2 separate regions of the Homo sapiens genome follow, and region 2 is linked to region 1. The links are contacts of gene promoters, found by promoter capture Hi-C in human tissues and cell types (Jung and others, 2019). All regions are on one chromosome and are shown on one strand. The core of a region is centred on a gene start or on the middle of the fragment in contact, and the rest is flanking DNA. Distances in the headings are between cores, read along the strand shown.

What was found. The method cuts DNA at HindIII sites, captures the fragments that hold promoters and counts their contacts. A contact is called where the count stands out against the background at its distance.
Region 2: a contact is called between a fragment that was not itself captured here and the fragment with the promoter of DRGX in region 1, in 2 of the 25 tissues and cell types used here (pancreas and spleen).

Annotation. Positions count from the first base shown.
Region 1 is chr10:49,392,066-49,397,493 of GRCh38, reverse strand. DRGX (dorsal root ganglia homeobox) reads left to right here and starts at 1,405. Exons shown (of 7, transcript NM_001276451.2): 1 at 1,405-1,559; 2 at 1,973-2,087. The coding sequence starts at 2,054. The HindIII fragment of the contact is 28,897 bases long and covers 1-5,428 here.
Region 2 is chr10:49,445,480-49,450,647 of GRCh38, reverse strand. It overlaps a transcript of ERCC6 not described here. Among named protein-coding and RNA genes, the nearest start is that of DRGX, 52 kb to the right of the region's middle. The HindIII fragment of the contact is 5,638 bases long and covers 1-4,945 here.

The sequences.
Region 1 (5,428 bases), core at 156-2,655:
GAGTCGGTGGCCCTGGCGGAAATGGCGCCCCGAGCTCTCTCCGCTCTGAAACGAGCGGAAGTTTCCTGTGATTCTTTCCCCGAGGCAGAGCAGACTCTGCTCTGGAGCGACTGAGCCCAGGAAGGGCCGCTTCACTGGAATAGATCCTGACTTGCCTCGACCGGAGCGGGACTGGTCTTCCTCCCGGCTGTTTTCGGAGGGGCGTCAACGGCGGCCGGGACCCAGCGCTCTGTCCTGCAGCTCGATGCTCCTTGCCCAGCGCTGGTGTCCAGCGGCGGGCCTGCCAGGCCTTTTGTTTCCAAAGCGCTGCGTCTTTAAGATCAAGGCTGTATCCCGGGCCGTGCAGGGACCCGACCCACCACCTCGCCAAGGCTCCCTAACGCAGCATTAGAATGTTTATAAAATATTCAATTTATGTAGTCTGTCCAAGAAGCCATCGTCCCAAAATAAAATCAGCAGTCTAGACGGAGCACAGACACCAGAACTTATCAACAGTTGTCTGACTTGCATCTTCTGATGCATCTTGAGTGGGTCATAATACCAACTTTATTTTCAGTGGTGCATAAATTAATTACACGCATTTAATAACCAAAATATCATTATATTCCCCCTTTAATATCATAAAGGCTTTCCGCCAGGGAAGCACTTAATAGTGCAGGGGGCCGTAACGGGCTATTATCCTGGTGTAATGCTATTACAGAACCAATTATGCGCCATTAGACTTGCTTTTTTTGCAGTTTATGTGATTTGATCCAATCCCGCGCCCCTGACTTGAAAATTTCAGCCCGGTACTTTAGAGTTTAATTTTCACCCAGGCAGAGAGAAGGGCGGTCTCTCTCCGTTGAGTGTCTGCCTCGGATGCATTTTAAAAGTAATTGCAAAGGGTCCCACCGCATATCATTTGCATCGAGAAGCGAACATAAATTCAGGGACCCCTTGCTGAGAACAAAATCAAACTTTCCTTTTGTACGATCGTTTGGAAAGGGAAGCCGTGTGCAAAGAGTCCCCCCAAAACCCATCCGGCGGCGACAATTAGCAGCGCTTTGCCAATTTGCAGCCCGGGAGTCACCAGGCCTTTGATAAGGGCAGCCCAAACCAGGCTCTCTCGGAGAAAGGTTTGCCTCTGAGGGGACATGAGGTGGGGGGTGGGGCCTAGTGTGTTTTCGGAAAATGTATGTTTTTGGGGGTGATGGTGGTGGTGGTTGTATCGTTCTCTTTTAAAAGAGGAAAAAGCATTCCTGATGTTTGCTGAGAAATGACGGATTTTTTTTTTAACACCACGTGGGCCATTTGTAAGGCCCAATAGACCTATCCAAGTTACTCGCTGTAGACAGCGCTGGAAATAATCAGATTAAGGCCAATTATGCGTGAGATTATAAAGGCGAGTGCTGAGCGGCGGCGCGCGCTGCAGACAGACAGCAAGACATCTGGCCACTTCCCGAGTCACTTCTTTGGTCCTGCGGGCGCCAGCCGCGCCGAGCCCCGCCCGCCGCCAGCCGAGCAGGGCTTGCGGATCGGAGGCGGTCACGCTCCGACCTCCTCGACCGCCGCCCGCCGAGGTATGCTCGGCTCCTGACCCACTCGCCGGGCCCCGAGCGCCGGGCCTTGGGGCTCGGCTGCCTTCCTGGCCTGAGCTGCAGCTCGCAGATGGCCTTGCGCGCTAGCCGGACCTGGCTGCGGTGGCCCGGGTGCAGGGCTTCTGGCTGGGACCCCAGAGAGCCAGAAACTACGCTGCGGGGTTTGGTGCTGGGGCCAGGGTGAGGGCACGGCCGTCCGGGAGGTGGACACACCCGAAGGACTGCCCTGTGGGGTTGCTGCTTGCGACGGGGCTGCCGCCTTCCCTCCTGTCCCCCGCAGTGAGATGAGGGCGTTGGGAGGGACTTTCCAGGAGGGGAGCGCCGGGTGCGCCCTAGGGCTGGGCGGGAGCGCTGGCAGAGGGAGACTTGAAGCTCTATCGCTGTTTGCTTTGCAGCCAGGCAGGAGCAACGCGCGCGGGTCCGTTCTGCTGCCACCCTCCCAGGTCTCGGCCGTCCAGCCGATCTGACAGCCGGCGATGTTTTATTTCCACTGCCCGCCACAGCTAGAGGGTAAGTAAGCGCTGCGCCCCAGGGTCTCCATGAAGCCAGAGCCGGCCAGAAAGGGCCGGAGCGGCAGCAGGGCTGGTGGGTGGCTGGGTCCCCGCCCTGCGGGGGGCGCAGCCGCCTGCCGGTGAGTAGGGGCCTCCCTGGACCCCTCCCTACACCCCACTCCAGGCCCGCTCCAGCTCCCCGCCCCGTCGCCACCTGCCTCCCAGCTCCCTCCCCGCCTGGGCCAGGACGCCCCGGGCTAGGCGTGCCGCGGGGACCGGCCGAATCCTCCCAGCACAGATGCTGGTGTCACGCCTCTAATTGGGGCTCCGCAACCCAGGGGGCCGCATCAATCTTTCACGGTGCTTCTGCAAACATCCCAGAAAGCAAAGGCGAGTGGACCCGCCGCGTCCTGGCCCAGATCACGAGCTGCACGAGCCTACAAGGGCCCGTCGCTGGGCTGCTCTCACTGGGGCCGCTGGCGAGAACACTGCAGGGGCCTCTTCCGCCCTGGATTCTGGGCAGCTCAATTCCCTTCCCGGCCTCCTGGCCGTCCCTGGAACCAGGTGGCCCTGCCCACCACCTGCCCGGACTGACCTAGCATGGCTCCTTCTCTGTGACTCACTAACCCTAAATGTCGACCACTCCCCACTCCCCAGGCCAGAATTTCCATCTTTGAGTGTCTCCAGGCCTGAGAAGAAATTTCCCCTCAGGATCCCCAGTCTGGCTTCTGCACCCAGTTGTTAGTGGGGGCGTGGGTTGGTGAGAAGGGGACAGTTGGGACCTCAGCATGCCCCTGCTCAGGACCCGAGGGATCCAAGGATGGGGTCTTCACATCAGGGGGCCAATTAGTAGCCATCAGGTGAGCCAATGCCACACTGTGGGCTTTAATGGGGCCTTCTGCAGAGCAGCAGTCTCAGCACTGGGGTATTGGGACTTTTGTAACCGTCGGACTGGCATTTGGCAACCTACTCGTTTGATTTATTATTGTGGTGGGAGAATTTGGGAAGCCAAGTAGTTGTGGGAGACAAGGGGCAGGGTATATGTTGTGAGGCGCTAGGAGACCTGAGACTTCAGGTGATGCTTGTCAGTCTTGCTGCAGGCTGCCCTGAGCAGTGGCTGAGCCTCAGAAAGTTTGTTTTTGTTTTTCTCATAAAAGCTCTTAAGAGTCCAATAGGATTTTCTAAAGGAGGCTAATGAGGACCAGTGTTTAAGCCCTGCTAGCTCTGTCAGCATTCCTAGGAAGGGAAGGCCACACATTTGCCTGCATTTCACATTTTATCCCCAAGTTCCCATGCAGGGTGGGTTTTATGGAAGGGTGGGAGACGTGCATCCCCTGACAGTGTACCCTAGGGGATGAGGGAGACTTTCTGTATGTTAAGGGTGCCTTCTCTGTGCATCTGAACCAGGGGTCTGGACTAATTGCCAGCCAGTGTCCCACCCTTCTGGTCAAAGTGGGTAAGGCAGAAGTTTGGGCATTTGGCAGGTAGGGGACGTCATGAATGTCTGTCTGCGGGGTGGACTGCAGCAGTGAGTTAGGGAGAGTCCTGGCCTGGCCTGCGGTGACCCCAGCTCTCAGCCCAGCTCAGCTGGCTTACTGTGCTCCCCACACCCTGGGCACATCCCACCTCAGTGCTGACTCTGTGATATAACCAGAAGAAAAGGAGATGGGTCTTTAAGAGCCTTTCATCCCTTTGTAGATGTGATTCTATGCCAGTTTTGCAGAAAGGAGTAATTTAGTTTAGTTTAGTGTTGCTGGGTGAAAGGGATCTCCCGCAAATGGAAAAGTTGAGAACAGACCCTTGGAATATGACATAATTATAGCCTATCATCTTTTTTATTTTAATTTTTTGTTAATCTAGATAGGCATAAGGGAGAAAAGAAAGAAAGGCTCATAATCTTACTTCTCAGATAATTTTGCTGATGTTACATTAAAAAGTACTACTGGCACCTGCCTGAGAAGTTTGAATACAACAGAAACTTATACATTGAAAAGCAAAATCCTCCTTTTCCACCTCTTTTCCTAAAAGTATCTGCTATTTTTTTTGTGATTCCTTCAAGAAAAACATGATTTAATTCTCATTTATGTATTTTTAAAATATGTGTTTTGCCTTATTTGCACTGAAATTATATTGCTACATCATTCTGTACTTTGCTTTTTTTACTTTGTAATATATCTTGGAGATTTGTTCATGCCAATGCATATAGATCTACTGATTTCTTTTAAACTGCTGTGTAGTATTCCATTGTATGTTGTGAAGAAAGCATCTGCTGATGGGCATTTTGGTTGTTTTCATTTTTTTTCAACTACAGTATTTCCAGAAGCACTTTTTTTTTCTATTTTGGCACACATTACAAATATATTTATAGATTAAATACCTGTATGTGTACTTACATTTTTGATGGATGTTGTCAAATTACCTTCTAATAAGGCTGTACCCAATTTGTACTCCTACAAATGGTGAATAAGCCTGCACATCTTATGATACTCATATCTGTACTGGGTGTCTTTATGCACCTCATTTTTTCTTCAAAATGTTGAAAATAATATTCCATTGTTCTGTTGTGTTTGGTTGAATTATCCTCAAGGTTTAGCATTTTCATAATATTATCGACTATTCTACTTATTTTTAAGTAAAAGAGCTATTCTCATTTTTTCCTCTTTTCTATTAGGTTGTCAATCTTTTATTAATTTGGTGAACTGTCAGCCCTTTTTTAGGATTCAGTTCGACATGCAGTGTTTTACTTAAAGATTCTGCATGTACACATTGTGAGCCACTTTGGGACCATGATGTATAAATTAGAAGACTGAGCGAAATTGTGATTGGAGATCCTCAGAGATTGTGTTCCATCCTCACCAGTCAAGTGCATTGTTTCAAAAAAAGACAATTTGTTTTCTTGCAAAGTAATGAAAATAAGACTGCTTTGAGGTCATTTCTTTTAAGTTTCCAATGAGCTGGAGAGAAATACCTGTAACTAAGGTTTTGAGGAACAATGCAATTTGGACAGGAAGATGGAAGGAGAACGCTTTAGCAGAGAGTCAGGGTGTTTGGCAAAGGATGTGGCCCTGGATGGTGAAAGAATAACTAAAAGGAACTTCCTCTAGTAGACAGAATTTTAAGAAGCCCAAAGGACTTTCAATCTTTGAGACTGAGGTCCTTCTGAGGGTCCTTGTCTGGGACAGTGTAGCTCCAGAACTCCTAATGCCGTGATTCTGAGAACAGAGCCCATGGCAGGTAAAGTATTCACTGGTTAATGGCAACTTGCTCATTTGTTTTCCTAAGAAGCCATTGTGGACTATCAAGTAAATAGAGCACATTTGGAAAATGATCTGAATGCACATTTGGGGCCAAACTCTGTTC
Region 2 (5,168 bases), core at 877-3,376, 52 kb before region 1:
GGAAAAACATGCCATGTTCATGGATCAGAAGAGTTAATGCTGTTAAGATGACAATATTCCTCAAACTTGTCTGCAGATTCAGCATAATCCCTGTCAGAATCTCTGCTGACATCTTTGCAGAAATTGACAAGCTGATGCTAAGAGTTATATGAAATTTCAAGGGACCCAGAATAGCCAAAGAAATCCTGAAAAAGAATAAAGTAGAAAAACCCACATTTCTTCATTTTGAATTACAAAACAATAGTAATTAAGAAGTGTGTTACTGGCACAAGGGTAGACATAGATCATTGTATTTTTTTAAAAAATGGTGATTCCAGAAATAAATGCAAACATCTGTAGTCAACTGATTTTCAGTAAAGGTGCCAAGTCCATTCAGTGGGGAAAGAACAGTCTTTTCAACAAATGGTGCTGGGACAAGTGGATAGTCACGTGCAAAAGAATGAAGTTGGACACTTACCTTACATTATATTTAAAAAGTTGGCTGGGTATGACGGCCCATGCCTGTAGTCTTAGCACTTTGGGAGGCAAAGGGGCAGATTGCTTGAGTCCAGGAGTTTCAGACCAGCCTGGGCAACATGGCAAAGTCATGTCTCTACAGAAAAAACAAGTTAGCTGGTCATGGTCATGTGCATCTGTAGTCCCAGCTACTCAGGAGGCTATGGTGAGAGGATCACTTGAGCCCAGGAGGTCAAGGTTGTAGTGATCCATGAGCATGCCACTGTACTCCAGCCTGGGTGACAGAGCAAGACCCTATCTCAAAAAAAAGAAAAAAGAAAACAAGTTAAAATAGATGAAAGAGGCCAGGCGCGGTGGCTCACGCCTGTAATCCTAACACTTTGGGAGGCTGAGGTGGGCAGATCATAAGGTCAGGAGTTTGAGAGCAGCCTGGTCAATATGGTGAAACCCTGTCTCTACTAAAAATACAAAAATTAGCTGGGCGTGGTGGCGTGCACCTGTAGTCCCAGCTACTTGGGAGGCTGAGGCAGAAGGATCACTTGAACCCAGGAGCCGAGATTGTGCCACTGCGTTCCAGCCTGGGTGACAGAGTGAGACTCTGTCTCAAAAAAAAAAAAAAAAAAAAAAAAAAGACCTAACTATCAAAGCAAAACCTATAAAACTCTTAGAAGAAAATGGGTAAATCTTCATGAACTTGGGCTTGGCAAGCATTCTAAGATATGACATTAAAAACACAAGCAGCAAAAGAAGAGAATTTGGACTTCATTGAAATTTAAAGCTTTTGTGCTTTGAAGGATACCATCAAGAAAGGGAAAAGACAACCTACAGAATTGGAGAAAATATTTGTGAATCATATCTAATAAAGACTCAGAAATAACTTTAAAAATGGACAAAGGATCTGATTAGACATTTTCCCAAATATATAAAAATGGCCAATAAGCACATGAAAAGATGCTTGACATCATTAGTCATCAGGGAAATGCAAAGCAAAACCACAATGAGATATCACTTCACACCCACTAAGTTGGCTAAAATAAAAAAGATAGTAACAAGTGTTGACAAGAGATTGTAGAGAGATTGGAAGCCACAGATACTGCTGGTGAGAATGTAAAATGGTGCAGCCACTTTAGAAAACAGTTGCAATTTCTCAAATGATTAAACACAGAGCTAGCCTATGACCTAGAAATTCCTCTCCTAGGTATATAACCAAGTGAAATGAAGACTTATGTCCACACAGAAACTTGTAAATGAATCTCTAGCAGCATTGTTCGTAATAGCCAAAAAGTGGAAACAGCTCAAATATACATCAATAGGTGAATGGATTTTAAAATGCAGTATATCTATACAATGGAATATTATTCAGCCCCAAAAAGCAATGAAGGACGGATACACTGATACATGCTATAACACTGATGAACCTCTAAAATTTCCTGCTAAGTGAAAAAGTCATGAAAGACCACATGCTATGATCCCATCCATATAAAAGTCCAGAATAGGGAAATCTATAGAAACAGGAAGTAGGTTAGTGGTTGCTTAAAGAAAGAGTGGTAAGTAGGTTGCTTAAAGGGTCATAAGTGGGGACAATAGTTAAAAAGTTGGGGGTTTGGAGGTGATTTTTAGGTTTTCAGATGATGAAAATGTAAAATTGAGGTGGTGATGGTTGCATGTATCTTTGAGTATACTAAAAGCTACTGAATTGTACTACTGAAATAAATGAGTTATATGGTATATGAATTATATCTCAGTACAGTTGTTAATAAATAATTAACATAAGGTGCAAGATAAATTGGGAGCTTAACAAAAAGACAACCCAATTAAAAATGCTTGAAGAATCTGAATAGACATTTCCCAAAGAAGATATACAAATGGCCAAAAAGCACATGAAAAGATGCTTGACATCATTAGTCTTTAGGGAAAGGCAAGTCAAAACTGTGATGAGGTACCACTTCACAGTCACTAGCATGACTATAATAATTTTTTTAAAACTCAATAACAAATGTTGACAAGGACATGGATAAGCAAACCTTTATACATTGCTGGTGAGAATGTAAAATGGTGCAACCACTGTGAAAAATAGTTTGGTGTTTCCTCAAAAAGTTAAACATACAATTACCATATGATCCAACAATTATACTTTGTGGAATATTCCACAAACTGAAAACTGGTGCTCAAACAAATACTTGTATGTGAATATTCATAGTAGCACTATTCACAATGGTCAAAATGTGGACACAGTTGAAGCGTCCATTGACAGATGAATAGATAAACAAAATGTGGTCTATCTACACAGTGGAATATTACTCAGCCACAAAAGGGATGAAGTACTGATGCAACAAGGATGACACAGAAGATAACATATATTGTATGATACCATTTATATAAAATACACAGAACAGGGAATTCTATAGACAGAAAGCAGATGAATGGTTGTGAGAGGCTGGGGTGGGGAGGGGGATGGGGAGTGATTTCTTTCTTTCTTTTTTTTTTTTTGAGACAGTCTTGCTCTGCTGCCCAGGCTGGAGTGCAGTGGCACGATCTTGGCTCACTGCAAGCTCCACCTCCCAGGTTCACGCCATTCTCCTGCCTCGGCCTCCTGCCTCAGCCTCCCAAGTAGCTGGGACTACAGGTGCCCGCCACTATGCCCGGCTAATTTTTTTTGTATTTTTTTAGTAGAGATGGGGTTTCACCATATTAACCAGGATGGTCTCGATCTCCTGACCTTGTGATCTGCCCGCCTCGGCCTCCCAAAGTGCTGGGATTACAGGCGTGAGCCACCACGCCCAGCTGGGGAGTGATTTCTTAATGGGTATAGGGTTCTTTTATGGGGTGATGAAAGTGCTTTGGAACCAGATGGAAGTGGTGATCGCACAACATTGTGAATGTACTAAAGGCTGCTGATTTGTACACTTTAAAAAATATCTTCAGGTGTTCAATATTGCTTTCAGTCTATTTTGGTAAGATTTTTCTAGAAAATTGTTTATTTTGTCTGTTTTAAAAGTTGTTCCTTTGTGGATATCATCTGTTTGTCATTGGTGTTCTGCAGTTTCATTATGATTTATGTGTCTTTTTTCCACATAAATTTTTCAAAGTTATTCCTTTGTGGTTATCATCTGTTTGTCATTGGTGTTCTGCAGTTTCACTCTGATTTATGGGTGTTTTTCCCCTTCTGGTTCAGTCCTCAGAGATATGTGGATTTATTTTTATCCTGTATGGAGCCTGTGCTTCCTGAATTTAAGGATTCATGTCCTTCAACAGTTCTGGAAGACTGTAGCCATTATTTCTTTGAATACTGCCTCTCCTCATTTGCTTTCACCCTTCTGGAACTTTTTATTTCTAACTTTCTGGTTAAGCTATCCATTGAATTTTTATTATTATTTTTTGAGACATAGTTTCACTTTTGCCCAGGTTGAAGTGCAGTGGCACGATCATAGCTCAGATCATAGCTCACTGCAAACTTTTGACCATAGCTCACTGCAACCTCGAACTCTTGGGCTCAAGTGATCCTCCCGCCTCAGCCTCCCAAGAGGCTGGGGCTACAGGCAGATGCCACCACACCTGGCTGAAGTTTGAAAATTTTTTCAGAGAGACAGAGTCTCGCTGTGTCACCCAGGCCAGTCTTGAACTCTTGGCTCAAGTGATCCTCCTGCTTTGGCCTCCCAAAGCACTGGGATTACATGTATGAGGCACTGTGCCCAGCCTGAATTTTTAATTTTATAATCATAATGTTTATTTCTAAAATTGTTTCTTCCTCCCCTCTAAGCTTCCCAATTTTGTCTTACAATGCTTTTTTCTTATTTTTTCTTCTTGTGGCTATAATAATTTTAAACACCACTGTTTCATAGACTCCATCAGATTACTGCACTGGCTGGAGGTCTTGCTGTTGATCCTGCTCTTTGTGGTGTCTGCTGGCTCTCCCTCACAGTAAATTGGGGGGTGTGTGTGTGTGTGTGTGTGTGTGTGTGTGACGTTTTTGTGTGTAAAGATGGGTGAGTCATCTTCAAAGGGGCTTTCTCACCAGCATGGTTTTTGTATGTGCTTGCATCTGATGGTTATTATCAGCCTGGGACCAATTTTTTCTGTTAATTTCTTAACTTTCAATATTTTGGATCTTGTGGTAATGTAAGTTTGGACTTCAAACTCATGTGAACTTATAGTTATGAATTGTCTGAGTGTAGAGGTGGGGTGAGATATGAGGGAGGATAAGTCCCCCACTAAGAATCCAGCTCAAACAGCAAAGCTTCTCTGTAGCGGGAGGTAGATTCTATTAATATTCTAGCCCACTGTTTTTCTGAGGCCATACCTGTATGAGGGGGTCTCAGTTCTGATTCTTTTTCTAAAGCAAGCCCATATTTTTGTCTGCTACCCATGCCTTGGTGTTAAATCCAAACTTCTGTATTTCAGGAACAGCACTTTTCAGGGAATATGGACCACTCTATTTATAGTTTCTTTCTCGTTTGTAGCCCCTGGCACTTGACTTTGCTAAGATCTCAGCTATGTCGTTAAACGGATTTTTGTCACATTATATTTAACATTATAAATAACATTTCTTGTTTAGAAGGCCTTTTGGGTAATCTTATCTGTTACATTGCTGAAACCATTACATTTTTTAATTTGTCATGTTGGTCTAAAGAGCTTAGAATAGTGCCTGGCACAAAAATAAGAGCTGTGTGTGTTAGCAGTTTCATTTTTATGTTACTTTTCTTATTTTTATT